Linked DNA regions of Homo sapiens: regions 2, 3, 4 and 5 are each linked to region 1. The links are contacts of gene promoters, found by promoter capture Hi-C in blood cells and fetal thymus (Javierre and others, 2016). All regions are on one chromosome and are shown on one strand. The core of a region is centred on a gene start or on the middle of the fragment in contact, and the rest is flanking DNA. Distances in the headings are between cores, read along the strand shown. Region 1 holds the start of P2RY1 (purinergic receptor P2Y1). Region 2 has its middle 210 kb from the start of P2RY1. Region 3 has its middle 200 kb from the start of P2RY1. Region 4 overlaps LOC102724289 (a long non-coding RNA gene). Region 5 has its middle 140 kb from the start of P2RY1.

Region 1 (6,229 bases), core at 1,053-3,552:
TCGCCCAGGCTGGAGTGCAGTGGCTCGATCTCAGCTCACTGCAAGCTCCGCCTTCTGTGTTCACACCATTCTTCTGCCTCAGCCTCCCGAGTAGCTGGGACTACAGGTGCCCGCCACCACACCCGGCTAATTTTTTGTATTTTTAGTACAGAGGGGGTTTCACCGTGTTAGCCAGGATGGTCTCCATCTCCTGACCTCGTGATCTGCCCACCTCGGCCTCCTAAAGTGTTGGGATTACAGGCGTGAGCCACAGCGCCCAGCCCAAAATTTATTTTTTAACATCATTTTTTAAAAAGTCTGTGGTGCACTTAAAACAACTATCCCCCAATTCCTAGTAAGGTGTCAGTTTTCTGCAAGTACTTAATGGTATCTGGACTAAGTGTACATTTCAAAACACTCACATTATGAGTTAATGCATTTGCAACAAACTTCTGAGTGAAGTCAGATATTGCCTAGGTTGCAAATAAAAAATGCAAAGGAGTGAGGACTTAAGACCTATTGAGTACCCCTGGAACCCTTAATGGTTTTCTTTGCTTCCTTTTCTCTCTTAATAGACAATCATCCCACCTAGGACCATACTAATCAAACAATACACAAATGTTTCATGTTAAGGCTCAGAATCATAGACTCATATAATCAGGAGATTGGAAGGAAACACAAAAAGTAAGACTTTTCAAGACAACCTCATTCACACTGTTTACTTGAATTATTTACTCTTGTTTTATTATTAATTTTTATGCTGTTCAATTGACTACAATTCAAAACCCAGTGTATTCATACCATGTGCTAAGATATGCTCCTTCCTATATGTGTTCCTCTAAAGAACCATCTGGATCTTGTGGGGGATATTTTCCTTTGTGGTATCAAAGCCAGGAGCTCGTGGTTTTCCTTTATTTTTTAAGGGAACACTATCATGTAGCATCTGGGACCAGAAAGAAATCTTGATGTTATATATTTTACAGATATTTTCTTTTTGGATTTTTTTTCCTCTAAGAGAAAAGCTTTTGTTAATGTGTCATGTAAAAATACATTAACTAGTAACTTGTCAAGAAGTGCTAGATTCCATTCTTGTGCGGGTCCATTTATATATGTTCCTGAACAGCTAATATTTCATTTAGTTTCCAATTAAACTTGCTCAAATACATTTTTGAAGTGCATTGCTTAAAATTTACATTCAAGGCAAGAAAACGAGTTTGTCAGTAAATGTAGTAATTAAGGAAGTCCCAAGTCTGTATTTTTAAGATACTAGAGGTAATTGTAACTAATCACTTTAACTTAAAGAAATAGAATTGGAAATACCCCCCTCCCCCCGCCACCCCCTACCAAAACCATACCTTAGTCACTTTGGAATTATAACCGTCTTTTACGTCTATCAATATAAATGTATTGCATTTGGCATTCAAATTACTTTCAAAGGGATAAATTTCGAATTTTTTTTTTTCATTGTAGCTTCTGATCTTTAAATGTACTGAACAGGAGGATTTGGGGAGCTTGTCTTGTCTGATAGGTGTTAAGTATCTATGACGACAAATTTGAGCTGAAGCAATGTGCAATATGGACTAGTAATATCTTCACAAGACTATTTTGGAAATTCTCACGTTGATGTTATTAATGACGTGGGTTTATTAGCATTTGGGTAATTAAGAAAAAACAGTACTAGAATTTAAAAAAAAGAAAAAAAAAGGTAAGAAGGGCGAAACAGAGTTCTCCACTCCTCTCCCAACCCTCATTCCTTTGGAGGCTCGCGCCCTCTTGGAATAGCAGGTTCCTGCATGTGCCAGAAATCCGGTCCCGGCAAAGCTAGACGCTCTGCAATGACAGGCGTTCCCAGCTAGGGACTCCTGGCTGCTTGGAGCTTGAAAACACCTGGCGTGGTTCTCGAGGGCCCTAGAGGCTCCTGCTACGGACTGGTCGGCTCTGGGGTTGTAGGCAGAAGGCTCTAAGCGGTCGGAAGGGTTTCCTGTGTGTCAGCAACTTCACTTTGCCGAGATAGCTGGCGGAAGAGGGAAGGAGCGCTCGCGGGCCAATCGCCTGCCAGCAGCCACCTTGGAGCGCACCCCTCTCCCTCGCCGCCGACTCCGGTAGCAGCGTGCCGGCAGAGGCTGAACACACTCGGCCTCGGCGGAGACCTGCTCCCCAGAAGACGCCTCCTGCTTCCCACTGCGCCCTGGAGGACGCGGGCTGGCTGCTGGGCGAGCTCGGCGGAGGCACGCCCCTCGCCTCCCCGCGGAGTGCGGACTCGCCCCGGTGCCCAAACTCCGCCCACCCTCTAGGGAGCTCCGCTCTCCCGCCTAACCCCGGCACTCCGGACAGAGCTGGGCCTGGGGAAGGGGTTCCTGAACTACGCGGACGCCGAACGGGACGCGCTGCAGAAGCGCACGAGTCTGCGGCCACGCGCGCTCCGATGGCTGCCAGGAGCTGAGCTCAGGGTGGGCGGAGGAAGCGGTTAGACGCCCCGAAACTGAGCTGCACGTTTCTAAGGTAGGGAGGAGGAAGATGCCCCCAATTAAGTTGATCTTTGAGCCAAGGAGGCTGGGGAGCAGCCTCCCCAAGCTAGAGCCCTGCAGAGCGAGTTTCCCTTGACCTCGCTGCGCCTCTGGCGCGCTCTGCAGCGCGGACCCGCGGCCCCTCGGGAAAGCGCAGTCGGAAAGTTATCCGCGGCGGTTCCCTGCGCGCCCTGTTGTGTAAGCTCGGCGTTGCCAGCGGACGGAGAAGTTGCTGGCTTGCCCGATAGCCCAGTTCGGTGGCGGCCCGGGGCGGATTTCATGGCCCGCGGCGAACGCGGGGCCAGAGCTGGCGTGGGCGAGCCCCTGCGCGCCCCCTCCCGCGGGGATCCAGTTCGCCTGCTCCCTTCCGCTCGCTGGCTTTTCCGATGCTTGCTGCGCCCCTGGCCGCCGCTGCCCTCTCGCCGCCTCCTACCCCTCGGAGCCGCCGCCTAAGTCGAGGAGGAGAGAATGACCGAGGTGCTGTGGCCGGCTGTCCCCAACGGGACGGACGCTGCCTTCCTGGCCGGTCCGGGTTCGTCCTGGGGGAACAGCACGGTCGCCTCCACTGCCGCCGTCTCCTCGTCGTTCAAATGCGCCTTGACCAAGACGGGCTTCCAGTTTTACTACCTGCCGGCTGTCTACATCTTGGTATTCATCATCGGCTTCCTGGGCAACAGCGTGGCCATCTGGATGTTCGTCTTCCACATGAAGCCCTGGAGCGGCATCTCCGTGTACATGTTCAATTTGGCTCTGGCCGACTTCTTGTACGTGCTGACTCTGCCAGCCCTGATCTTCTACTACTTCAATAAAACAGACTGGATCTTCGGGGATGCCATGTGTAAACTGCAGAGGTTCATCTTTCATGTGAACCTCTATGGCAGCATCTTGTTTCTGACATGCATCAGTGCCCACCGGTACAGCGGTGTGGTGTACCCCCTCAAGTCCCTGGGCCGGCTCAAAAAGAAGAATGCGATCTGTATCAGCGTGCTGGTGTGGCTCATTGTGGTGGTGGCGATCTCCCCCATCCTCTTCTACTCAGGTACCGGGGTCCGCAAAAACAAAACCATCACCTGTTACGACACCACCTCAGACGAGTACCTGCGAAGTTATTTCATCTACAGCATGTGCACGACCGTGGCCATGTTCTGTGTCCCCTTGGTGCTGATTCTGGGCTGTTACGGATTAATTGTGAGAGCTTTGATTTACAAAGATCTGGACAACTCTCCTCTGAGGAGAAAATCGATTTACCTGGTAATCATTGTACTGACTGTTTTTGCTGTGTCTTACATCCCTTTCCATGTGATGAAAACGATGAACTTGAGGGCCCGGCTTGATTTTCAGACCCCAGCAATGTGTGCTTTCAATGACAGGGTTTATGCCACGTATCAGGTGACAAGAGGTCTAGCAAGTCTCAACAGTTGTGTGGACCCCATTCTCTATTTCTTGGCGGGAGATACTTTCAGAAGGAGACTCTCCCGAGCCACAAGGAAAGCTTCTAGAAGAAGTGAGGCAAATTTGCAATCCAAGAGTGAAGACATGACCCTCAATATTTTACCTGAGTTCAAGCAGAATGGAGATACAAGCCTGTGAAGGCACAAGAATCTCCAAACACCTCTCTGTTGTAATATGGTAGGATGCTTAACAGAATCAAGTACTTTTCCCCTCTTTAACTTTCTAGTTTAGAAAAAAATCAAACCAAGAAAATAGTGAGTTAAAAAAATAATAGAAGTAGAAATGCCCACATCCACACTTAGCTTGTTTGGGTTTGCTTTCACAGTCTCTCTTCCTTCTGACTAGAAGTATGTATAATAAAACAATACTACCTAGTTAAACATTTACTTTCTCTTTTGCCTTTAAAATGTGCAGGCTTTTCTGTTTAAAGTGTGTGTGCACATGAGTACTGGGGCTGTTTTTGATATTAGTAATTTCTCTAAGAAAACTAGCCCCCTGCAACTTGAGTTTGTGGTTTATCTAGCCTTTATTGTTTTTTTAAAATCCACAGTAGGAATAAAAAATCTATATTCTCAGAAATATCTAGCATGGTATATAACAAAACACTAAACTCATCAGTTCATCCGGCATCAGATCAATGGATCTCTGAGCGGGGTGTTTTTTTCAGTGTCTTATAAGCATAGATGATAGTTGACTGAGTTTCTTTAGGGCATTGAATAGACAAGTAAAGCTAATGAATTTAAAAGCCTGAAAAGTGATTGTTTTCCAGTTATTTCTGGAAAAGGTCTCATTATATATTGGGTGCTAAATGTTTGATGGGGAAAGCCTGCATATATTATCGTACTGGTAAAATGCATTCAAAATAATTAAAGTGCATGTATTTTCCTTGTAAACACCATGAGCTCTCTTAGACATCTTGTGATAAAGAGCATTTACTTGCCCCACTGCTGTGCAATGCCTTAGGACTTTGTTTGTGTTCCAGGACAAGTGTTCACTCACATCTGTAAAAACAATTTTAAGAATTGCAAATAAATTACAGACCAAAGATTGAGTAAAGTCAAATAACTGTTAGTAAGTTGAAGGATATTGGACAGGAGGACAGTATTTCAGAAAAGGAGAGGTTGACAGTCATCCACAAGGCATAGCCTCCAAGTATACTCTCAAATGTATGAAGCAACTGGGGTGGGCAGAAGACATTTTAGAATGAGGGCTTTAGTTTAAATTAAAGTCATGGTGGAGAAGACTCTTGCTTCCTCCAAGTGTTTGAAAACACAAAATGCGATATGAAAAGAAGAAATAGAATTTGTATAGGTTGCATTGATAGAATGGGAAGCTATAATCTTTGAATAAACCTTACATCTCAATATTTAAAGAAAAAACATATATATGGAGGGAAATATAGAGAATTAAAGTACCTAGATGCCATAGCACTGAAAAGTAAAGTACTACTCAAACTACTAATAGAAGACTATTGGTCAGTGTTTTCTATTATATTTGTTCTCTGCCAGGTGTTAATGAAAAATTTGTAAAATGCTTCAACAGTGTTAATAATTTTAATGAATATTGAATTGCTGCATGTCTAGTCCTTGAAATGGTCAAATTCTATATAATGAGAATAACAAGGTGAGATAATGCAATTGACAATCCCAAACAAATCCAGTGTCAAAGGAATTTTTAGTTTTGGAAGCTATCCCTCATAAAGTCAACATCAGAGTTTGCAACTGATGGTGGCATAACTTGTTTGAAAGCACTTTACAAGTAGAGCAACATGGGGCTGTATGTTAAGGCAAGAAAGAACCTTAGTGCCCCGTGGACCATAATGACAGGAAATTTTCAGGTCTTGATTTCAGTTCTTGCAATGCCTATGTAGATTGAGGATTTGTGAGACCTTCAGAGTAGCTTCACTTTACCCAATCTCTGGCCACTAAGATCAATGAAGAAAAGCTGTATTTAACCTTCCAAAGCAGTGATTCTTTTTACATGTTCAGTTTTAATGCATAGGATTATAGAAACCAAATCAAGAAGAAACCTACTACACCTCCTTATTTTGAGGAAAGAGAGGGTTAGCAAAGTTCTCACTTCATCAGGCTCAAATAACATCCGTTTTAGATTCCTACAAGACAAAATCTAAAATATGTCATTACTTTATTGACCTTGTTAAACAAGATCAATATCATTAAACTGACCAAGATGGAAATTACAGGACTTGTACCAGACTTGAACTTGTAGCCTAATGATACACATTTTTACAATATTTCTTCACCATTTAGTTTTCTTTCTTTTAGGTCTCA
Region 2 (6,229 bases), core at 1,292-3,791, 210 kb before region 1:
GAGATAGGTAAAAATAGAGGCTGTGAGAGACAGGAGGTAAAGAGAGAAGATTTCAGTGGTGTTGAAAAGAGGAGAGATGGAGGAGACAAAGTTGCCTCATATCAAGAGTAAGAGAAAAGATTTGGTCCTTTTCTTATGAGTGTTGGACTGGGCTTCTTTGTGACCCTAGATAGTTCTTATTCATATTTTAAGTAAAATTATAGTTTGGAAAGGGTAATATTTCACATCTGAAACTGAAACTTTTCTTTCTTGAGTCAATTAGGTGGATGAGACCTAGCTGTTATATTCAAATGTCAGGCAGTCTCCTAAATATTATATTGAGGAAGACTAAGGATTGGACTTCACTCCACATTAGATTTAAACCTTTGCACTATGGCTCTGATGAACAGAAATTTAATGTTCTTTGATTTTCCAAAAAATGGAACCTAATTCACAAGTCTTTATGTCTGCTGTGTAATGACAACCAATTCACACTTGTGGGTAACCCAACCTTTGTTGACAGCAGTGCCTTTCAGGTAATTGTTCAGTAATACAGGATTCCAACAATCAGTTAAAGTTCAAGCTCCCAGGAAGAGCTGTCTTCCTCACAAGGGCCTGCCCTTTCTTTTCCTTGGGTTGACACTTGGGTGAGGAGAGAAGATTCACAGGAGTAGGGCAGAGGGACGGAATACTCTGCCTATTGTCCTTTTGTCCTCTCTGGCCTCTGCTGTAGCTCTAGGCCTTGGTTTTTACATCAGTATCTTCTTATCATCTCCAGCTGGTAGAGGAGAGAGGCAGAGCTACATAAATAATCTGGGGAAAGGGAAAAAAATGGACAAAAATTTCCCAATTGCATTTTTCCACAACTCATTTGTGTTTAGTTTTCTGCCAAAAATAAAGAAGAGGTTTACAGAGAATAGATGCCTTCTATATTAAGGGAATGATAGAAATATTACTTCATTATTATCTCCTTCAAATATCAACCAGCACACAAATGCCAGTATTTCATCCTATGAATAAATGTGAAGACACATTTATCTCATAACTAAAAGTTCTGTAAAGCATTTAAAAATGCTTATAGTTTATACTTATCATTACACAAAAATGCATATAAAATCCATTATTCTGTGCCCTCAAAAATATTCATTAAGGGTCCATGTCCCCAGTTACTTGGGGGAAATAATGACAAATTAGACCCTGTCCTTATGGAGTTTACAGTGTATTGGCAAAAAACAGTTGTCAAAAAAGCTATGAAAATAAAAATTGATGACTGTTATGATAGGGGAAATATATGGGGCTGACAGAGCATTTGGCAAGGGAATGGAGATTGAGTTTGAAATTGGAAGGACATGTAAGAGTAAATCTCTCTATGCCAAACAGAGAACAGCATGTGAGATGCCTTGAGATGGGGATGGCCATACTTTAAGAGAAGCCAATGGAGCCTCATCACAACTAGCAAATAGTTGTGGCCCAAAATGATGCTGGAGAAAAGCCAACTCTGAAACTTAAGGGGTATATTTACAACCTTGGAATTTATTCTGAGGGCAATGGGAAGGCATTTACTGGTTTTAAGTTAGATACTTATTAAAACAACCAGCCTGGTTGGAAAATGTATAATATTGTTGTAGGCCCCAAGTGGGTATGTGAGGTCAAAAATTTAGGTTGACAGCTGGCAGCAAAGGATGAAAAGAAGATGGACAGATTCAGGAGCTATTAAGAAAGTAAATTCAACAAGACCTGCTGATGGATTAAGTATGGGAGTGATCAAAGGGAAGAGTCAGTGGTGACTCCCCATTTGTCCTTCTGGTAGATGCTGTGCCAGTTGAGGGCATATGGGACAACAAAGAAGGGAAGCAGGTTGCAGATATGCAAGAGAGGAAGAGCTCCCTTTTGCATATATTCAGTTCGAGGAGTCTGTTGGGCCTGTATGTGGTTAGGAGACAATTGACTAAATAGGACTAGAGTTCATTGGAATTGGAAGTGCTTGTTGAAATCACCCGATATACTTGGCAGCTAAAGCACTGAGAACAGATGTGACAGCCTAGGAAGACAACATAAAACTAGAAGAGGATGCAAATCAGGACCCAAGGAAACATGGTGTTGAAGAAAAGGCAAAGGAAATGAAACTTTGAGAAGGAAAGGCCGAAACAGGTAGAAGTATCAGAGAGGACAAGGGAAGACAGCATTTCAAGAAGGAAGAAGTGGTCAAAATTGGTCAATGTTGCTGAAAAGCCAAGTAACATAACTTTTGAAAGTGGTCATTCACAAATTTGATGAGAAAAATTTCAGTGACTTTCTAGGGCCAGAAGACCTTAGGATTGAAACAAAGTGAAGGAATGGATCTAGGGTAGAAGAAGGTGGGCAAATGCACTCTGAGTGTATCTACTTATTCAAAAAGGCCTGTCTGGAATTTACATTTCTTCACATGGATTGAAATGCCTCCCCTGGATAAAAGAATCCAAGCTTTTATAAAAGATATCATTTTAAAGATATCTTCAATAAGGCTCATGATTGAGAGTGCAGCAGTAGAGACCATATTTTTGAGGATAGCCAAGAAAAATCTGAGTAAATACTGGGTTTGTCTTTCTTTTCTGCTTTCCTGCCTGAGCAGTCAGCAGACCTGCGAGGGCACTGCTGTGGCACCTACTGCACTGTTGTTGCTTAAGCTTTGTGCCAAGAGTATTTGCCAGCCTGAGTTGGAGCTGGCTGCTGCTAGTGTTGCTCCAACTGAGATGTCTAGTTAAGTCCTGCTCTTTTGTGAACTGAATAGCAGTCTTTCTGGCACTGCCTGGAGCTTTCATATCATTGTCATTTTCAGCAAAAGGAATAAAATTTTCAGTAAGATAGGCTCCCCAAGTAGAAACCAAGCCCGCTTTGAGTTTGTAATTAACGTACAGATCATACTGATAGCCTGGCCACTGAAAATAATTATTGAAACAAAGTTGGTATAAATACAATAAATAAATGCATTCTTCAATACAGACAGTTCAGAGCTGCTTAGACTATGTTATGATAAAAACAGTGTAGGAAACAGTTTTTAAATAGTCTTCTAGTACCTAACTTTTGTATTTTAGATAAATAGCTTAGAATGCTGGTGTCCAAATCAAAAAACTATCAAATCTAAATTAATGTGAATTCCATGGAGGCTTTTTGCAAGTGGTCTTTTGCACATGTGAAATGCCTGCTTTGTTTTTGCATTTGTAACAGCCTTTTTGAATTAGATTACAAACCAACCCTGTTTCTTGGGACCAGCATCACCACCAGGCTGGTTCTGAAGAACTGTCGTCTTTCAGTTAGACACCCACACGTCTCACTGAATTGCTCCCATCTGAAAACAATGAGGTAATTCACTATCCAAGTGCTCTCCAACAGACCGAAAGCATCAGTACCAAGCTGAAATCTTCAAATAAGGGAGGCTTTCAATGTTTGTCTAAAACTCCTTAACCTACTTGCAAAAAGAACAGAGACCATTTATTGTCTGGAAGAGTGATCTGGGACAGAAGACAGGAGAAAGGGAAAGCAGAAAACTGATGCCTGCTGATCTGATTCTCCAAACTAAACTCTAAAGCTGATATTAACCATGAGCAGAAATATGTCTTGTTCAAACAGCACATACATTGGCTGGCTGTGGGGTGCTAGGCTGAATTTAAATGGAGCTGAGGGAAGTGCTGTGTGTCAACCTCTTCGTGCCTTATCATGTTCGAAGTGGATTAACCTCATCAAGCATTGATCTGTTTCTGTAACAAGTTGTGACGGCTAACTGCTCTCTCTGCACCGCACGAATGGAGGTATTATTGCCATTGAATTTTAAGCCCTGGTGACTCACTGTGCTGAGCCTTATGTCTAGCAACTGAGAGAAGAAGAACTCAGCATCCAGCTTTTTTTTTTTGAGTGCCCAGAACAAGTCATGTACATTTTCCAAGCACTTGTCCTCTATTTAGTCCTGAATCTTAGTTTATGCTGCAGTAGGCCAACTTATTATTACTGCCTACTATACATTTGTCTTTTCCACTAGAAAGAGAACTTCTCAAGTAAAGGAATGTGTGTTTCCTTGTCTGTGACCTACCATTTTATCCCCAGCACCTGGCATCCCAGTGTTTGAAAATTTGTAGACGTTCAATAAATAGTTGCTGAGTGACTGAATGTTTGAAAACATCTCCTGCTAGTAAGAGCAAGTTGACAGTTAACCTTAACAGATGCTATTAATCTGGAAATAACATTTTTTTCCTGCTTGCCTACTGACACTTAAACTATTTCCTGGGACCAGACAGGAAAGACAATGACATCTCTTGTTTTATTACTATAAGAGAATGATTGACTAAAAAATAGTAGCTTTGTACTTCATAAGTCCAAGTGCCATCATATTCACTGGTTGCTTTTAATCAGTTACTCTGAGCTGCGTTCTTATTCAAAGAATATTAAAGCAGGAAGAACCTCAGAGATTTGCTAATCCAATTTGTGACAAAGCCAAGACTGGAAACCAGATCTCACTGTTCTACTCATTGTGACACTATGGTCCCACCTTTTCATTTACAAATGCATAACACGCACTGAAGCATTAAATCCCTCACCCCAAATCCCCATACTGCAAGTCAAGACAGAGTCAGGGCTGGAAAACCAGCACATGAAGTTGTAGTTCTAGTAGGAATCAAAGAAACTCAGCTCTCTGAGTTTTTCCCATGATTTCTATGAATAGTAAATGAACACATATTCTGTATATGGTGCCCATCCCATGATGAAATAGACAGCTGTGGAATCTCAGGGTTGGGAGGGATCTCAGATCCCATTAAACCACGCCCCTCCTTGGTCTTGGCTATTATATCTCCAGTGCTTGGAAACTCATGCACACAACCTCCTTTTCTCAGCACATATTGAATAAATCTAATTATTGGAAAGTTCATTCTTTAGAGCAAACATACAACTTTCCCTCATTGGTTTAATATGTATCCTTTGGGACTAGAGAGAGTAGGATTAAGCCCTCTTGATTATTCTAGGACCATGCTATCTGAACAAATTGCATTGCCTCCACAAGTCATCTCTCCTTTAGGATATATATCTGTCCACTGTATTCTTATTGCCATGGAAACTGTATGACTCAAGTGGTACACACATAAAGAGTAGCATTCAACTACCTAGAAAATAACCTAGGAATCAAAATGATGGAAAACGATACAAAGTGGTAACAATTCATAAATGAAATAAATACAACATGAAAAGTAATTAAAAATAAACACAATTTATATTTATTAAAGAGATTGTCTTTTCACGAGTAAAGATAGGGACTCTGGGAATAAAAACAAAAGTGGTAGAGAGGGCGGGTAAGATGAAGATTTTCTACGGCAGTTGCTCAAACCTTAAGCAGCCCCTTGGTAATGACAGTAGGTTCATTTTCATTGTCTCTGAGGTACGGGACCACTAAAATAAAAACAACAATTTAAAAACTTCCAGAGAGCTTTGACATCTGTAAGAATAGCTCAAAGCCATTGTGTGTATTACATGGATACCACATTGCATCAGTTATTTCAGGAAATTGTAAGATAAAAAAGTTTAAGATGACTGCAAAGGATTGAGGAAATAATCAAAAGATTGACCAAGTTTATGCATGAAGCACTGAAAATTGAATGTTTGGCCAGCATCTCCAGTTTCCTGTGGTTTCAGGGACAGAACCAATAAGCCCTGATGTTCATCTTTTGTTAGCCACCGACTTATTTTGTTAAGAAAACAGAAGTGCCTGTAAACTGGAATTAGAACAAGAGAGTAGAAAATTTCATTTCAAATTTGCTGAGCATAAAAGTTGAGGGTTGGGCAACAGCCAAGAGAACAAATCTGTAAAGTAGAGTAAAGCATTAAGGAATCTTTTGTACTTTGGGAGAGAAAATAAAGTATAAAAAACACTGTCAGAAAGATAATTTTGATCTTCCCTAAATTACGGACTTTTGTAACTGTGCATAAAGATGTTACAAAAATTGTTTCATCCAAGCGACTTCCCTCAGAGTCCAAACAAACAGTAGCGTAGAAACATTATTTGAATGTTTTTGATTCAAAAATACAATTAAAGAGGAGCTAAGATTGCTTTCAGAAGGGTCAAGATACATTAGATCAGTGTCTCCTTTAGGGCTTTCCTTCAACAGGAAGATTTGCTGTTTCCAAGCAGTCTGGCCACCACTTCTGATGACAGCTCCTTCTGAACAAAAAAAGTTCCATTTCCCTTTTCTTCCTTTTCCCTAGTGTTTCAAACTCTCCATTCATT
Region 3 (6,229 bases), core at 1,593-4,092, 200 kb before region 1:
GTACAGAAGCATCCTGTGGAAGATTCCTGGAAAAGAAGATGGAAATTGTGAGAGCCAAGGGCCATTAGAAACAAGAGCCTGGCTGGGCATGGTGGCTTACACCCGTAATCCCAGCACTTTGGCAGGCTGAGGCAGGAGGATTGCATGAGCCCAGGAGCTTCAGATCAGCTGGGGCAACATAGCGAGACCCTGTCTCTACAAAAAATAAAATTAGCCAGGCATGGTGGTGCATGCCTGTGGTCCCAGCTACTTGGGGGCTGAGGTGGGAAGATCAGTTGAGGCTGCAGGGAGGCGTGATTGTGCCACTACACTCCAGCCTGGGTGACAGAGAGAGACCCTGTCACAAAAACATAAAATAAAAAAAAAAAAAAAAGGAAAAGAAACAAGCAACAAGAACCTCCCACCTAACTTTCTCAGAGGCACAGTTCTTTTCCAACTGCTTCCTGGTATTTGTCCTCTCTGCCCTGTCTGAAGTTGGCAGCATTCCTGTCTTTCAACATAGACTCTCAGATTGTGAACCTTATCTAATGTATTTTCAGTTCCCAGATTATATAGGTTCTAAAGTCTCTAGTAATTGATGCTGTTAATGCTAAGGAGCTGTCTGTCTTTGATAACTCCTGCTCACAGTGAAAAGATCCTCCTGGACTTTTCAGACCAGTTGTAAGCACTTTTTTGTCTCCTCAGTCTCTTCTTTAATCTATGTCTGGAGCAGGTGTGATGGACATGAAGTTGTGCTACCCAGATCACCCCTAAAGAAGGAAACCACAAAGAGACATAGAATTTGAACAGATAACTGCATTTGATTTATATGTTGTCTTTCTGTTCTGTCCTGGGCCCTCACCAGGGTCTTTCTTCATTTTATTTGCCAGTGCCACAGTTGCATGGCTGTGCACTGTATCACTCCTGGGGATTACCATCTATTTGGACTGCAGAAACAGAGGAGTCTGTAGAGTTGTACACTGTGCTGGCACCTCACAGGTCTGCCCTGATCAAGAAGCTTGATGCTAGTGCATAATTAAGAAGTGAAGAAAAAAGTGATGGCCACCATTATGCTACAAACAATGCTGTAAAGTTGTTTTTTTCAGGGAATATGAATTATTTTAAGTGAGCATGTAAGGCTGTCATTTTGACAATAGCTTTATTAGATGTACATGGATGAAATAATAGCAGTAGTAAGTGAAATATTTTAACTTAGAAACTCTGACTATTATTCTTTGAAATACCTTTTCATATTAAAAAAAATAAACTAGTGTTTTCACATTTTCAAGTTGAAGAACACTGTGGATGAAGCAACAGTAATCATCAGAGCATTATCCCATGAATCAGAATGGAGAATGAGTTTCCATTTCTTTGAAGACCGTGCTGTGTTTCAGTGAAAATAGTTTTAGGTCTATAACTTTATCGCAGATCCCATGATAACCAGGACCCATGATTATTCATTCATAAATGTATTTATTTTAAAAATTATTAAACACTGATAAGAGACTAAGAATGATCTATGAGTTACTGAAACCAATTGGAAAACTACTTATTAAGATCTAAGTCTTTGAGAATGTGCGATACATATTTTCAATACATATTTAAAGATGTGCTGTTTAGAATACAAAAAAAGTTCTGTTGATAGGAGAGCAACATAGAGTTCAGAATAAGAAAATGTCTATGACTGAAAAAATAACCAGGCATCAACTTACCTATAACTTATTCCAGTTTCCTTTCAAAAGAAGGGCTATGCAGTCAAGACACCGAAGATTATCATCAAGCCTTTGGGCACTTTCTTGCTGCATCACCTCGCTGACCATTCCAGAGATGTCTTTAATCACTTGTTCTCAATCCAGCCACTATCTCATTGAGAATTCTCAAAGTAATATTTTACAGAGAAGTACAAAAGAAGAACCAAAAGCTTTGATTAACGAAATCATTTTTGTAAGAGTTAAACATCCCCCACCCCGACAAACAACTTCTTTGTAAAGGATTTGTCCTTAAGATTTTAAAATGTAAACATAGATTAAGGCCAAAGATAGAAATTGTTCAATGTCATGAACACAATGTTAAAGCAGACCTTTGAAACCGGATTTTCCAGCTACCAGTTAATATTTTAGAATTATTACCATATTTGAATTATTACAATATGATGGCATTTCCTTATTTGGGCTTTGGCATCTGACACTAAGCACAGTTGCATAGTAGGTCTCAGGAAACAGATCCTCTGCTAGTAGAGATTGACTCATTACAAACCAGATTGATTTCTAATTCCTTCAAAGCAGTCTATAATCTTAATTTTTCATCATTCATATCACATTGTCATAACTGCCACATTTCAAAGAAAAGTGATTTGAATCCCCAGGTTCTAAAAATGGTGGATATGCTCAGAGAAATTAAATCCTCTTGGGGTCTGTTAATTAGCCAGTTCCACTTATCTGAGAAAATGAAATCTTAAGAAAATCTGATGCTGCTTGGTATTTGGAGTTTGGGAATTTCAGTGTAACTAATGTCATGTTGTGCCAGGATTCACTGTGTGGAACCATGAAGCCAGAACATAATCAATGCTGTGAAATCACAATACTCAGATTATAGAAAAATAAACTCTCCAATATCTGCCAAGGGAGTCATGAGGCTTCTTAACTGAAAGCCTACCTGACTACAGAACCCTTAATGGCAATTAGCTATTTGTCTCTGTTTTTCGATCTCAAAAAAATTTAAAAGTAGTCTCTGTCCCCATTTTGCGGAGGGGGTTTCCATTCAGAGGTGTGATGGACATGAAGTTGTGCTACCCAGATCGCCCCTAAAGAAGGAACTTTCTGCCCCAGCAGACAGCCTCCAGTTGTCAACTTTGGTAGGGTTTGACCCATCTGCAGAGAGCCACATTCCCTAGCACTCACTTTTTTTTTCAGGCAGAGTACCTGATTAAGGCAGAGGTATAGAGGCCCAGCCATCTCAGCCCAATGTGAGTCGTGTCTGATGGGCTATATGCATTCCTGCATTCTCTATGGGGAGTTCTCTCTCTGCCATCCTGCTTCCTGACCTTCACTTCCAAAGATGTCAACTCCTAATAATAATAGTAAGCCCCTATCTTTACCAGACTTTGTCTCAGTCTTTGCTTCTAGACAACTAGGCCTTTGACAAAAGATAAAATGACACAGATTTAGACATACACTATCTTGTGTTTGAGGAAATTCTGAAAAACACAGTCATATACAATTCAGCATGAAGATACTAGCAAACACAAAAAAAGATTTATTTAGTGCAGTTGGGCTAAAAATTGCATGTCTGTTGTTTAATTTTTCATCAGCTCCTCAGTCAAAGCCCACAGGCAAATCCCACACTGTTGACGCGTTTCTAGCTTTCTGGTAGCGCCTTCTCTTTTACTACAAAAATTGCCAACTTAAACAACAATGTTTCTAAGGGAATTGGATTAAAAGGAACTAAGGCAGCTGAAAAAATATTGCTATATAGAAGCCTTGGAAGAAATACACAAAATTCTAAGAATGTGAAAAGGATTACAGAAAAACACTTTCATTAAATTCGGCAAAATATAAGCCATTTTAATGTAAATGATCTATTGAGGATTATAGATCTTTGTGGTAAACAATTCAATGAAATTATTGTTTAATTAGTGCCTATAACGTATATGGCCTGCTGTACAGTGTAGTAAGAATTACAATAAAGTGAGAGCAGGAGATTCCTCTCTTCTGATAAAGGATGAAATATGAAAATATGTTAAGTGCATTTCAAATGTTGGGGATGGGGAGACAGGGAGAGAAAGAATATGCGTCTGAGGAAAAACAAAGCTTCCTGGTATCTGAGAAAGGTTATTAAAAATGAGTAATATCCTGCCAGGTAGGATTGAAGGGGTATGAAATCCCAGTTAAGGAAACAGCACGAAGGATGGAGAAGAAACTGTGTGTTTTGTTTGACTTCCACTGGTCTTAGTGTCTCACCCATGAAGGGAAGTAGTTGCAGAGAAATGGGGCATTTCAGACTGTGTTTTTGAAAACCACTTAGCCCATTAAATAGTTCTTCTGGGTTAACTTGCTTGAGGGAAGTTCTTGGAAAAAAGACCTATTATCTATTAGTACATATTTGAGCTCCTTGCAAATGTGCACAGTTTAGAAAGACTTGTTTTCTGTTTCTTTTTAAAATTCAGGTCTGTGCTTGTTCTTTCACATAAAAACGTCTGAGTACACTGTCACCGCACACATGCGCCAAGTCCAATTAAATGTTAGGGCTCAGATGCCGGTATTCTGTACACGTGTTCATCACTGCCTAACAGTAGTTGTGCAATAGTAAGTGAGTGGGTAGGATGAAGAATTGTGATAATATCTTTTACGGGTTTCATCTGAAGGTTTTGGAAGCTTCTTGGCTGAATTTTATTTTTGTGAAGGGGAATGTGAGCAGATGGTAGATGTTGTCAGTGATTTAACTTTGAAATAAAAGTGTCCAACTACCTCCTCTTTCCAGCTTCTAGATTACATTAAAGATACACAACAACTATGTATCTTTGTGAAAGTGTGTAATCTTAGCAATTACAAAAGTAAATGAGATGTTGAGATTGACATGATTGTAAATGTCACTCATAATGTTGCTCTAATTTTCTACTTATGTTTATTAAAGCTGGCTCATTGTTCTTATTTAGTGATGTTGAAATTTTAAAAAGTTAAAAATTTGGATATATAATATATAATACCTTTGTACTAGAAAAATAGCAATTTTGGGTATTTTAAATATGTATGATATTACCTGAAAAAGAATACATTTAACAGTTTGGAAACTTCCAAAACTGAGATACCTTCCAAAGAAGTAATTTAATGATCTCTTCTAATTTCAAAGAATTTCCTATGCCCTGATGTTTATTTGCAAGAAGTAAATGGATGAGAAAGAGTATCCATTACTATTTTTCAGGAAATAAAAATAGTAGAGCAAAATACCTTTTGTTTTCACCACAAATTTTCAGTAACAAAAAAATAAGCCAAACAAAAACTGCAATTAACATGACTATGAAGAAATATTAGTGAACATCTACTATATGTCAAGAACAATAATTGACACATAGTAGTTACTCATATTTGTTGAATGAATGAGAGTTTTTGGATATTAATTCCTAGTGAGAATGTAAAGAAACAGCCACATACATAACAATCAGGGTTTTAGAGCTAGTTTATTTAAGCTGAGTGCAGTGTCTCATACCTGTAATCTCAACACTCTAAGAAGCTGAGGCAGGAGGATCGTTTGAGCCCAGGAGTTTGAGACCAATCTGCGCAAAAAAAAATGGGATACCGTTTCTACAAAAAAATAAAAAAATCAGCCAACCGCGGTGCACTCCTGTGGTCTCAGCTACATGGGATGCTGAGGCAGGAGGATCCCTTGAACCCCGTAGTTCAAGGCTGCAGTGAGCTGTTTTTGCGCCTCTGCACTGCAGGCTGAGTGGCGGAGTAAGACCCTGTCTCAAAAACAAAAACAAAAAAGAGAGAGTTTATTCAACTAAAAACGAGCAAAAATATGAATCAGTATAGTTTTCAAAATATTTAAACATGAAATCTGAAAGTTATAACACTGAGTTCAACAAAAACTTGAAATTCTTAAGATGTCCAAAATAAAGCTTTACATCTAAAGAGAAGTTTTGAATAGTGATTTTGTTATGTATCTAGTATTTGGGCCAAAAATAGTAACATATGTTAAAATTACAAACAACAACAACAAAAAATATATTTCAGAGCAGAGCTGAGGAAAAGATAAGATGTAAAGCAATTGAGAAATAAGGAGATAATTCAATGTGATTACTAGCATCTTAGTATAACGTAAACAGTAATTTCTAAGAGCTCTGTTGGAAAAAAATGTATAGCAGAATTGATTACAAGGAAATATCTATAAGAAAATTGAAGTTATGGAAATTGATTTTTAAAACATCAATTTAACCTTTCCAAGAAAAATAATGAAAGATAAACAATAGGGCACTGATGGAGGATAAAGGGAAAAAAAATCTATCACATCTTCAATACTTAATCATAGAGCTTGTAAATCATAAAGGTGTAAGCCCAAAATTCATCTGTCTTGCTTTTAACAATTTAAGTAGCTTTGTTCCCATTTTACAGACAAGATCATTAAAGTCTAAAGAGATTTCTGAGTGAAAAAAAGCTAGTGCAGTTTTTCAATGTAGTAATTTTTACTTCTACCTCTAATTTGAATTTTATTTAAAAATTTGTTATCAAAATATAATTGTGAGGAGCCATTA
Region 4 (6,229 bases), core at 2,231-4,730, 180 kb before region 1:
ATTGAAAGTTCTGGATTAATGTATTTGAACATTAACTTGTAAATCATTTTTTTGAGAAAACCTAAAGTGTTCTAGAATGCTATATTTTAAAGAAGAATTCTCAAAGTTTATTTATTTATTTTTTAGCTTATTTTCTTTATGGCTGCCCCATAGCCAGCCCCCTAGCAACTGTCTGCTCTTCGGCCTGATGCAAAATGTCAGGTCACTTGCTGGGAACAGAGTTTGGAGGGCGGGGGTCTGGAAATGAATTTAGAGCCGTAGGATGCAGGTTCACATTTTCTCCTGGATCAGCTATGTTTCTCCAGGCTTCCGGGTACGGATCTTCAGGGAAGAAGTAGCTAGGCACTCCCAAGAAAGCTCTCAGTCTCTTCAACTTCCTCATTTCAGCTTCCCTGCACTCTGGAATTAAACTTTTGTGCAGCCAGGCTGTGAGAACTGATGCATAAATCATGAGATAGGGCTTTATTAGGGGGAGTAAAGAATTCTCTCACATGGAAAATGTTCACAAACAGATCCTCAACAGTTGTTTAGAATGCCTGAAATTTGTTATTAATATATATGTACCACTGAAGAGTTACAGTGAATGTCAATAGAAGAATATAATTTTGCACGTCTCCATTTTGTCACCGTATCTTCAGTGTTTCAAAATCCTTTGCTCCCTTCCAAAAAAGATTCTGGGATTTAGTAACATAATGATACTAAGTTACTTTCTACTTAAAAACATATTAAAGGTAGAACTGAAAGATATTTTACAAGCCAAGACAGAATCCCGGCTCTGGAGTTCTGTTACTCTTGTAACCATTGATAAAATCACTCGACCGGAAGCTGCTGCTTGGAGCTGCATTCTGCAGTGCTAATTTTAAGTGTTTGATGTTATCAGCTGTACCAGGGAAAACCAAAGCAACAATGAGTGTCAAGTCTTGGTAGACCAAAGAAAAAGTATGCCTAGACTATTTTGTGAAAATTCAGATATCTCTAATTACTGTAAATCCAGATTCATGTGCCAGCAAACATTTGTTGCTAAAATTGTTTAAAATTCACTTCCATCACCTTCTTCATGAAAGCAGAGACCAACTTGACTATCATTGTTTATGCTGCCCTTTGAAAACTTTTCTGTGATCAAAGATGACAAAAGCAATGCAACAGCCTACTTCTCTGGGAAAAGCTAGCCCCAGTGCCTAAGGGAAAACATTCACTAACTCTTTTCATATGAAAATCAGTCTTTGTTCAGAGAAGGAGGGGAACAAGCAGAGACTTTTACTGGGACAAGTAAATCAAGCCTTCAGCAACTCAAGGAACAAACATACAAGACAAGCTCAACTCCTCGTTAAGACCAAATTAGGACAACACTACAAGAAAATAAATTGTTTTATCTGGTTGTGGTGCTTTGGGGATAGTTAATTGACTACTCAAATAACAACTTTGATAGTATATGAACTGTGACTGTGTTAGTAGGTTTTAATTAGCAGGAACTTTTTGTAAATTGGACAAAAACTTTTTTTATTATGACTAGGAAAACTGCTGTTTTCTATTTTTGTTTTGCTCTTTTAAGTGATACCGAACTTTAGTTAATCCCTCAGTCCTAAATTATGGCTGTTGCGAATGAGGGCTATAATAGTTATCCCATTTTATTTTAAATTTTGTATTAATGTTGATAGAGATGAAAGAAGAAAAATATTTGCACTCATGCTGAAATTGCAAAGGAACATGTGTGAATGACCTCTTGGATACTTGTTGCTTGGAAATGCGAGCAATAGTTTCTTTATTTTTATTTTATTTTAGTTTTTTGAGACATGGCCTTGCTCTGTCACCCAGGCTGGAGTGTAGTGGTATGATCAGGGCTCACTGCAGCCTCAACTTCCCTGGTTCAAGCAATCCTCCCACCTCATGCCTGGCTAATTAAAAAAATTTTTTTTTGTAAAGACACAGTCTTGCCATGTTGCCCAGACTGGTCTCGAAGGCCTGGGCTCAAGCGATCCTTCTGCCTCTGTCTGGAAAGCAGTAGTTTCTATGCAGTGACACCTATACTACTAACTATAATTGAACTTAACCTAGAAAAGCATTTTGCATGTTTAGCTTTTAAGTGTGTTTGACAGAAAAGGAGAAAGGAACCTGAAATAAGAAATAATCTAGTGATAAAATTGTTGATGTTCTCCTTCACTGTAATCCATTCCAAATATAGTTTATTTTGCTACAGAGCATGTTCTGTAATGTAAATGGAAATAAGATTGTTAAAGAGGGAATGATGTGAACATAACTTGGGTGATGAGAAGGCTCCTAAGGGATTTTCCCCCTGCATTTTGCACTGCCAGCATTTACACTGCAGCAGAGTGCAAAATATGCTAACAAAGCTGCATACAGCAAACCTTAGAAGAATACAGTACTGTACACCATGTCCATTCATCCTATCTTCCCAGGAGGTTGATCATGTGCAAAAGAAACAATGACAAGATAATGATCCAAAATCACCAGCCATATCTTTGCTGTGGTATGTGTGAAACTTGCATCTACTTATTACATAAAATGCTACACCTGTAACTTCTGATGGTGTTGTGCTTTTTTCTGTAATTCAGCAGTCTTTCTTTTACCTCATTCTGATAGCCTACTTTCATTTGTATTTGGAATAAAGTCATATTAGTTACTGTAGTATTGCTTTCTTTATTATGATTTTAACATTTTTTAAAAACTGTGATAAATTGTTATTGAGTAGGATTTGTTATTGTTGTTAATGCTCTGGTCATCAAGTGCATTAAGTTTTGAGTGGTCTATGCTAATTCTATTTTTTCCCCCATTAACTTTGTAACTTGAAGTGTGCAATGTAGCTTAATGCAAGCTTTTCAGAAATGCACGTGTATGTTATATCAGATGTTTGTACTGTGGTAGGACTTTCTCCCTAGTTCAGCTAAAGATGGGGTCCTTGCCATACAGCTATGTAGTATTAGGCCTGCAGACACTTTGAAGGGTGAGAAAAATGGAATTTATTGGAAAAAAGGAAAAAAGGGGAAAGAGGGACCCTCAGCAGAGTGAGAGTCCTGCTAGTATATGCTTCCCGCGTCACAGATTGAATTCCAGGTTCCACCCAGGAAGAAGAGGGGCCAGGCTCCTCCCCAGGGCAAACAGAGTGAACTTCCTGAGGCTCCACCCCAGTGTGCATTCCTCCCAGCACACAGGCCAGTTGGGGGTTCTCCAGTGACTCCTTTATATTTGGCTGTCTCGTTACTTCTAAAATATTTCATATTCATAAAATAAAAATGTTTTAATAATGTTATATATTTGTAAAGGCATTTACAATCTTCAAACTTCTGCATGAAAAATCTCTCAGAAGTCAAAAATGGATTTACTGTCCTGATGTAAAATAACCTGCAAATCTTACTTTCTAATTTTGGTGATATATGTGTAAAAAGAAATAAATCATCTCATGAACAAAATTAAAAAAAAAACAAAAACTGAGAAGTTGCGGTGAGTTCTGAGGCAGTACGGTGTGGCATGAGAATGCAGGCTCTGAATCTACAGACTGCCTGGTTCAAATACTAGCTCTGCCAAAAACTAGTTACATAAATGGAGCAGATTATTTAACCTCTCTTTATGCCTCAATTTTCTCATTTACAAAATTGTTGTTAGCATTAAGTGTGTTAATACTTATAAAATACTTCATATTTATATGTATGAAGTATTATTACTGCTTTAAAATACCATTGACTGATCACATTATTATACAGTACATATCTTCTACTGATATATGAGTTCCTTGAAGTAAGACCTATGTCTTATTGCTGTTACATCTTCAATGCATGAAACATAAGAAATGTTCAATCAGTGCTAGTTGAATTGAATTAAATTTTTTAATTACTATTTTTTGTTTTCCTTTGACTAGATAATTTGTTTGGAGATTCTTCCAAAGATAATCACTTTTCTTCCTGTGCAACCTATATATTTTTTAAAACTATTTTAAATTATTTAGTTTTAGAATTCTTTCTTATCTCTAAAATGTAAAAAGATATCAACAGATAGCATCAACAAATAGGTATCAGATGGTGAGATAAGAGATAACAAAAGCTGATAAATGTAAAAGCAAACAACAGTGAAAATTTGTGATATACAAGTTTCAGTTCCAAAGAAACAACGGATTAAGCTTTTATAAATAGCTAAAATGAATAACAATTCAAGTGAATACCTCTTAAGATATGCTACTCAACAAATGCTTTTTGAGCCAAACACTCTTTTGGATGCTGAGGACTCAGAAAAAGAAAAAAAGTGCTTTTCCTGAAAGTCTTCTGATATTATTAAAGGGATGAAACATATATATTATAACCCTTGACTAACACGGAGTCATAAAGTCTTGAATATATGAAGTCATGTCATAGGTAATTAACCAGATTGGGTTCTAACCTTTAAATAATCTCTCCAAGCCCGTCAGCTGTAAAAAAGTTGTTAATGTTCCTTCAAAATGTGAAATTCTAGAGCTTAATATCTATAAATAGAGCTTTCATTGTTATGCCTCAAAATTCAACAGCTTTCTCAGTTGACAGACATTTGTCTCATATTCCTTAAGTTACCTTTTCCTACTCAGGAATAACCTTTTCTTACTTTTCAAAGAATAAAAGACATACAGATTTGGCAACAAGTAGGTTATTAGTAACATTCAAGCAAATAATAGCGCAACTTTTTAATGATAGTAGATTTAATTATAAAGCCTTATAAAGGAAATTGATAATATATTCCAAATGAGACATCTTATTCGAATGCTCTGTGGATCATTAAAACACATTTATTACTGTTGGTCAAGGAATGCAACCCTATTCCACTTCATATTAAGGTGAGAATTATGAATTAATTCCTTAGTATTCATAATGTTTAAATAGATTAAGATCAATTTCCTTAAACTCCAGTGTCTCTAAATACCTTTCTAATTTACTGTTTCCATTGTCATCCGTTGTATAGCATGGTGTCTTTTACCTGGTCAACATATCACCTCCTCTTGCTGGCTAGTCTATGTATGTTCCAGTTTGACTGTTCAGCTATAGTCTGAGTAAGAACTGGATATGTCCTTGCTTTTTTGATGGCATAGTCCTTGTTGATTAGCTTTTCTTTCATCAGTACTCTTGATTCAGTCTTACTGTGCTCTGATCATGCTGTCTACAAGTAATGGTAAAGGGGGTGTTTTGCCTCCTATACACCTTAACATAGAAAAATAGATCACATAGTTTTTCACTGTGCATGATATTGAGTGGTTGTGTCTGCATTCTTTCTTTTGTGTCTCATACAGCTTGGCTCTGTGTCCCCACACAAATCTCATGTTGAATTGTGATCCCAAGTGTTGAAGGAGGGATCTGGTGGGAAGTGTTGGATCATGGGAGCTAATTTCTCCCTTGTTGTCCCTGTGATAGTGAATGAGTTCTCATGAGACCTGGTTGTTTAAAAGTATGTAGCAATTCACCCTTTGCTCTCTCTCCTGCTGGCCATGTGAAGAAGTGCTTGCTTCCCCTTTGCCTTCTGCCATGATTGTAAGCTTCCTGAGGCCTTCCCAGCTATGCTTCCTGTACAGCCTGTGAAACTGTGAGCCAATTAAACCTCTTTTCTTTATAAATTACCCAGTCTCAGGTAGTTCTTTATAGCAGTGTGAGAACAGACTAATACAATGTCATTTAATAATTTGACTTTCACTTCATCCTAATTTCCAGAGAACTTTGCTCCTAAATTACTTACATATTTATTATTTTATAGGGTTTCATACATATGTAGTATATATGTATGAAATATATATATAATAGGGTTTATATATATGAGAAATACATATTTTGTAGGGTTTCATACATACATATATATACACACACACACGTATGTAAGATTTCATATATGTATATGTATGTATGAAAACCTAAAAAATAATACAGGCAAAATAAGAGTAAATCTTCATGATCTTGGGTTAGGCAATAATATCTTAGATACCACACAAGCATAAGCAATTTAAAAATTTGATAAATTGTACCTAGTGAAATTTAAAACTATTGTGCTACAATAAACATGGTCAAGAAAATGAAATACAATCCATTGACTGGGAGAAAAGTATTTGAAAATTATATCTCTCATAAGAGACTTGTATTCAGAATTTATAAAGAATACCTATAGATAAATAATGAAATAAAAATGGACAAGAATTGAATAGACATTTTTCAAAGTGTATACACATTAACACGTGAAAATTTGTTCAGCACCATTAATCATTAGG
Region 5 (6,229 bases), core at 2,566-5,065, 140 kb before region 1:
TCACACATCTCTCACTTTAATGAAAAGCTAGAAATAAATGAATAAGCTTAGTGAGAAAGACATGTTGAAAGTTAAGATCGGCCAAAAGCTAAGTCTCTTGTGATGAACAGTTAGCTGAGATATGAATTAAAAGAAAAAAAGAGTTCTTGGAGAAAATTAAAAGCACCACTCCAGTGAACACAGGAATGATAGGAAAGCAAAACAGCCCTATTGCTGATATAAAGAAAGTTTTGTTGGCCTGGATAGAAGATCAAACAAGCCACAACATTCCCTTAAGCCAAACTCTAATCCAGAACAAGGCCTTAACTCTATTCAATTCTATGAAAGCTGAGAGAGGTGAGAAAACTGCAGGAGAAAAGTTGGAGGCTAGCAAAGGTTGGATCATGAGGTTTAAGCAGATGTTGTCTCCATACCATCAAAGTACAAGATGAAAGCAGGTGATAATATAGAAGCTGCAGCAAGTTATCCAGAAGATCTAGCTAAGATCTTTCCTGATTTGGAACAACTGATAAAGATTCAAAAGAAAAAGGAATTAAAAATGAAATTCTAAAAAACGATTTTAAATGTAAGCAATACTTGTTATTTTTCCCAGTTTAACATTTCTCCAGGAATGAAATTTAATGTTTTGAGCTGCCTTATAATGAAATGCATAAATAATTAGCATTTTGCCTCCAGAGGGTGATATTATCCAGCTAACTGGTGAAAGCACAATATTACATGTCATTTTAAATCAATCCCAAGTAGCTTTTTAAATGTAAGTCCCTAATTTTACAGCATCTTTATGTAAATTTTGGAAATAGATTTCTCTCCATCCTAGAAGAGCATCAAGTGTAATAAAGATTTTTAATGATATACCATCTGTTGTTAGAGCATATTATACAGACAAATGGATGTAAGTCTGGAAGTTACAAGTTGAGGGGCACTAAACGCATTTATTTGAGTACTATATTTTGAGTAGAAAGTGTCACATATGAAAATCACCCTCCTCATAAGTTTTCAGTCTTTGTTAAGTGCTACTACTAATGATGACATTGATGATGGTGTTGGGAGGAGAGTAAATGGTGATGCCAGTCTTGGGAAACATGTGTAAGACCCTCTCAGGAAATTGTTTTTAGAGAAACATAAGTTTGAAGCCATATCCAACCTTCTGCCCTCAAATGACATCACTAATTTTGTTGCATATCTTACACAGGAAATTCTCTCTAAGATAATTTTTGATGCTTCAAAAAATCAAATTTACTCCTTAAGACTGAATATTTGACACTTCTAAGGATATGTATAAAAATGTATTGTAGGTGCCAATGGAAGTTGAAAACTATGGCAATGACAGCATTATTGGAACTTAGCCTCCTGGGATGACCATTTTGTATGGGAAGACATTCAGATGGATGCTTTGATAAAAACTGCTACTTGTCCCCTATATCCATTTTCTTTTCATACATGGTAGTAGAATCCCTGATTTTTAGCTGGATACATGACTGCATGGAAGAAAGGCTACATTTCCTTGCCTCCTTCCAAACAAGATGAAATCATGTCACTTGGTTTTGGTCAATGGGATATAAGCAAAAGTGTCATGTGGCAACCTTGAATTTTCATTACTAGACAAACATCCATGCATTTTTTGCCCTTTCTTCTTTGTCCACATCTTTTTCCTACAGGCTGAAATGTGACAAAATAGTTGGACTGAAACAGTTACTTTGGCCCATGAGATGATCTTGAGATTGGAGGTCACATAAATAGTAGAGCAGCAAGAGATAGAATTCATATGCTTGAAACATTCATGGGATCCAGCCCTATGCAAGTCCTAGCCTGCATAACTTCAGACTTTTATGTAAGAGAGAACTAAGCATACCTCTTCTGCAAGTAACAGTCATTAGGTGCCTCAGCAACTCAAAAGGAACCTCACCCTATATAGTAAGTGTGAATAAGTTCCAGTGTGTTTGTTTAAAATATATACTTTTAGAATAACAGTAAAAACTCAATGTATAGTTTTAGAATAACAGTAAAAACAGAAGTGTTTTGTAATTTAATAAACTCAGTTATGCTTTATACTCATGTTTGTGTATTATCATTTAAATACTAATTTTCAAAAAACTTTGGGAGTTGGGAAAAATATTGGAGTACACTGAGGTAGCCAGGAATGGGAGTGGTGGTAAGGAGAAGCTGCATTCCAGATTTCCTCATACAGAGTTTAGGAGAGGATATGAGGCCTCTTGTGTTTTAACTGAAATCTAGAGTTGCTCAGTTCCCATTTGTTAATTCTATCACAAATATTTATTTGGTGACCATTGTGCTATAGGCAGTATTAGAGGGGATTACTATAGTGTAATGATTAAAACAGACAAGTTCTAAGTCCCATGGAAATTTTATTTTAGTGGGAGGACACAGATTGTAACGAGTAACCAAATAAATATATAATACGTGAGAGGTGATAAGCGTTATGTAGAAATTAAGCAGGATTAAGAGGTATAGTGGAAATGACTGTAGGTTAAGAGGGAAAGGGTGAAAATTCAGAGATGTTCTTTCAGTCAAGAACAAGGCAAGTATTAAATAAACTTATACTTAGGTCTACTGTTCTTAATATGTTCCAGCTCCTGCATGGTCCCTGTTGAGCACACACGAGCAAACAATGACCACCTTCTTCTTATCCCAAGAGCAATATGAAACTTGTGATAGTTAATACTGAGTGTCAACTTGATTGGATTGAAGGATACAAAGTATTCATCCTGGGTGTGTCTGTGAGGGTGTTGCTAAAGGAGATTAACAGTTGAGTCAGTGGGCTGGGAAAGGCAGACCCACCCTTAATGTGGGTAGGCACAATCTAATCAGCTGCAGTGTGACTAGAATATAAAACAGGCAGAAAAATATGAAAAAGAGACTGACCTAGCCTCCCAGCCTACATCTTTCTCCCATGCTGAGTGCTTCCTGCCCTTGAACATCAGACTCCAAGTTCTTCAGTTTTGGAACTTGGCCTGGCTCTCCTTGCTCTTCAGCCTGCAGATGGCCTACTGTGGGACCTTGTGATTGTGTGAGTTAATACTTCATAAACTCATATATATATATATATTCCATTAGTTCTGTCCCTCTGGAGAACCCTGATGAATACAACAATCATAAACTTGGAATCTCCTTAGAGCTTGGATTTTAGGATGAGAAAGAGGAGATCCAATATTTTTTCTCTGTTTCAGGTTACTTTTAAATTCAAACACACATCTTGACCATAACATTGGCCTTTTGTAAGATCCTAATCTGTGTTCACTATTATTATCCCAGAGATGATACCACTCTATTATCCCAGAGATGATGCTTTTATTTCTCATCACTTTTATCAACTTTGATGGATAGATTTTACAAATCTTTTGACACTGGGAAAGTAGTCCTATAACAAAAAGCACAGAATTCAAGGTGCAAAGAAAACTACATGTGTTTACAGGCATACCTCAGAGATACTGCAGTTTCAGTTCCAGACTACCACAATAAAGTGATTATCACAATAAAGTGGGTCAAATGAATTTTTTAGTTTCTCAGTAACTATAAAAGTTATGTTTACACTATACTATAGTCTATTAAGTGTTCAATAGCATTATGTCTTTAAAAATCTATGTATCTTAATTAAAAACACTTTATTGCTAAAAATGCTAATCATCAGCTAAGCCTTTAGCAAGTTGTAAAGGGTCTTTCTTCAATGCTGATAGCTGCTGATTAATCAGGGTGGTGGTTCTTGAAGATTGAGGTGACTGGCAATTTCTTAAAATAAGACAACAGTGATATTTGCCACATTGATTCACTCTTTAGTATATGAAAAATTTCTCTGTAGCTTGTGATGCTGTTTGATAGCCTTTTACCCACAGTAGAACTTCTTTCAAAATTGGAGTCAATCCTCTTAAACCCTACTGCTACTTTTTCATCTAAGTTTATGGAATATTCTAAATCATTTGTTGTAATTTCAACAATGTTCACAGCATCTTCACCAGGAGCAGATTCCATCTCAAGAAACCACTTTCTTTGCTCATCCACGAGAAGCAACTCTTTATCCATTCAAATTTAGCCATCTAGTCACATCATTAGACTTCACTTCTAATGTAGTTCTCTTTTTATTTTCACCTTTGCAGTTACTTCCTCCACTGAAGTATTGAACCTCTCAAAGTCACCCATGAAGGTTGGAATCAATTTCATTCAAGCTCCTGTTAATGTTGATATTTTGACCTCCTCTCATGAATCATGAATGTTCTTAATGACATGTAGAATGGTGAATTCTTTCCAGAAGGTTTTCAGTTTACTTTGCCCATATCCATCAGAGGAATTCCTATCTATGGCAGCTATAGCCTTAAAAAACATATTTCTTAAAATAATAAAACTCGAAAGCCCAAATTACTCCTTGATCCATAAGCTGCAGAATGGATGGTGTATTCGTCCATTTTCACACTGCTGATAAAACATACCCGAGATTGGGAAGAAAAAGAAGTTTAATTGGATTAATAGTTCCACATGGCTGAGGAGGCCTCAGAATCATGGTGGGAGGTGAAAGACACTTCTTACATGGTGGCAGCAAGAGAAAATTAGGAAGAAGCAAAAGCGGAAACGCCTGATAAACCCATCAAGTCTCATGAAACTTATTCAATATCATGAGAATAGCTCAGGAAATACCGGACCCCATGATTCCATTACCTCCTCCTGGGTCCCTCCTACGACACACGAGAATTCTGGGAGATACAATTCAAGTTGAGATTTGGGCGGGAACACCACCAAACCATATCATATCATTCTGCCACTGTCCCCTCCAAATCTCATGTCCTCACATTTCAAAACCAATCATGCCTTCCCAACAGTCCCCAAAAGTCTCATTTCAGCATTAACCCAAAAGTCTACAGTCCAAAGTCTCATCTGAGACAAGGCAAGTCCCTTCCGCCTATGAGCCTGTAAAATCAAAAGCAAGCTAGTTACTTCCGAGATACAATGAGGGTACAGGTATTGGGTAAATACAGGCTTTCCAAATGGGAGAAACTAGCCAAAACAAAAGGGTTACACAGCCCATGCAAGTCCAAAATCCAGTGCAGCAGTCAAATTTTAAAATTCCTTTGACTCCATGTCTCACATCCAGGTCATGCTGATGCAAGAGATGAGTTCCTATAGTCTTGGGCAGCTCCACACCTGTGGCTTTGCAGAGTACGGCCTCCCTCCCAGCTGCTTTCATGGGCTGGTATTGAGTGCCTGTGGCTTTTCCAGGTGCACGGTGCAAGCTGTCAGTGGATCTAGCATTCTGGGGTCTGGAGGATGGTGGCCCTCCTCTCACAGCTCCACTAGGCAGTGCCCCAGTAGGGACTCTGTGTGGGGGCTATGACCCCACATTTCCCTTCCTCACTGCCCTGGCAGAAGTTCTCCATGAGGGCCCCGCCCCTGCAGCAAACTTTTTTCTGGGCATCAGGCCATTTCCATACATCTTCTGAAATATAGGTGGAGGTTCCCAAACCTCAATTCGTGACTTCTGTGCACCTGCAGGCTCAACACCATGTGGAAGCTGCCAAGGCTTGGGGCTTCCACCCTCTGAAGCCACAGCCTGAGCTGTACATTGGCCCCTTTCAACCATGGCTGCAGCAGCTGGGACACAGGGCACCACGTCCCTAGGCTGCACACAGTACGGGACCTTGGGTCCAGCCCATGAAACCACTTTTTCCTCCTGCTTCTCCAGGCCTGTGATGGGAGGGGCTGCTGTGAAGGTCCCTGACATGGCCTGGAGATATTTTCCCCATGGTCTTTGGAATTAACATTAGGATCCTTGCTATTTATGCAAATTTCTGCAGCCAGCTTGAATTTCTCCCCAGAAAATGGGGTTTTCTTTTCTATCTCATTGTCAGGCTGCAAATTTTCTGAACTTTTATGCTCTGCTTCCCTTATAAAACTGAATGCCTTTAACAGTACCCAAGTCACCTGTTTAATGCTTTGCTGCTTAGAAATTTCTTCCATCAGATACCCTAAATCATCTCTCTCAAGTTCAAAGTTCCACAAATCTCTAGGGCAGGGGAAAAATGCCACCAGTCTCTTTGTCAAAACATAACAAGAGTGACCTTTGCTCCAGGTCCCAACAAGTTCCTCATCTCCATCTGAGACCACCTCAGTCTGAACCTTATTGTCCACTATCACTATGAGCATTCTGGGCAAAGCCCTTCAGCAAGTCTCTAGAAAGCCCCAAACTTTCCTACATTTTTCATTCTTTTTCTGAGCCCTCCAA

What was found. Contacts are between HindIII fragments. The CHiCAGO score rates a contact against its expected background, and 5 or more counts as called.
Region 2: a fragment that was not itself captured here is called in contact with the fragment with the promoter of P2RY1 in region 1 in 1 of 17 cell types (megakaryocytes); the score reaches 6.1 in megakaryocytes.
Region 3: a fragment that was not itself captured here is called in contact with the fragment with the promoter of P2RY1 in region 1 in 1 of 17 cell types (megakaryocytes); the score reaches 5.6 in megakaryocytes.
Region 4: a fragment that was not itself captured here is called in contact with the fragment with the promoter of P2RY1 in region 1 in 1 of 17 cell types (megakaryocytes); the score reaches 6.0 in megakaryocytes.
Region 5: a fragment that was not itself captured here is called in contact with the fragment with the promoter of P2RY1 in region 1 in 1 of 17 cell types (M2 macrophages); the score reaches 5.1 in M2 macrophages.

What each region holds. Positions count from the first base shown.
Region 1 is chr3:152,832,829-152,839,057 of GRCh38, forward strand. P2RY1 (purinergic receptor P2Y1) reads left to right here and starts at 2,303. Exons shown (of 1, transcript NM_002563.5): 1 at 2,303-6,229. The coding sequence starts at 2,955. The coding sequence ends at 4,076. RefSeq lists silencers at 2,210-2,259, 2,972-3,266 and an enhancer at 2,440-2,539. The HindIII fragment of the contact is 2,977 bases long and covers 1,000-3,976 here.
Region 2 is chr3:152,617,919-152,624,147 of GRCh38, forward strand. No RefSeq gene overlaps it. Among named protein-coding and RNA genes, the nearest start is that of P2RY1, 210 kb to the right of the region's middle. The HindIII fragment of the contact is 203 bases long and covers 2,441-2,643 here.
Region 3 is chr3:152,635,066-152,641,294 of GRCh38, forward strand. No RefSeq gene overlaps it. Among named protein-coding and RNA genes, the nearest start is that of P2RY1, 200 kb to the right of the region's middle. The HindIII fragment of the contact is 1,888 bases long and covers 1,899-3,786 here.
Region 4 is chr3:152,656,052-152,662,280 of GRCh38, forward strand. The region is part of intron 2 of LOC102724289 (a long non-coding RNA gene); the gene reads left to right. Among named protein-coding and RNA genes, the nearest start is that of P2RY1, 180 kb to the right of the region's middle. The HindIII fragment of the contact is 1,299 bases long and covers 2,832-4,130 here.
Region 5 is chr3:152,695,331-152,701,559 of GRCh38, forward strand. No RefSeq gene overlaps it. Among named protein-coding and RNA genes, the nearest start is that of P2RY1, 140 kb to the right of the region's middle. The HindIII fragment of the contact is 7,542 bases long and covers 45-6,229 here.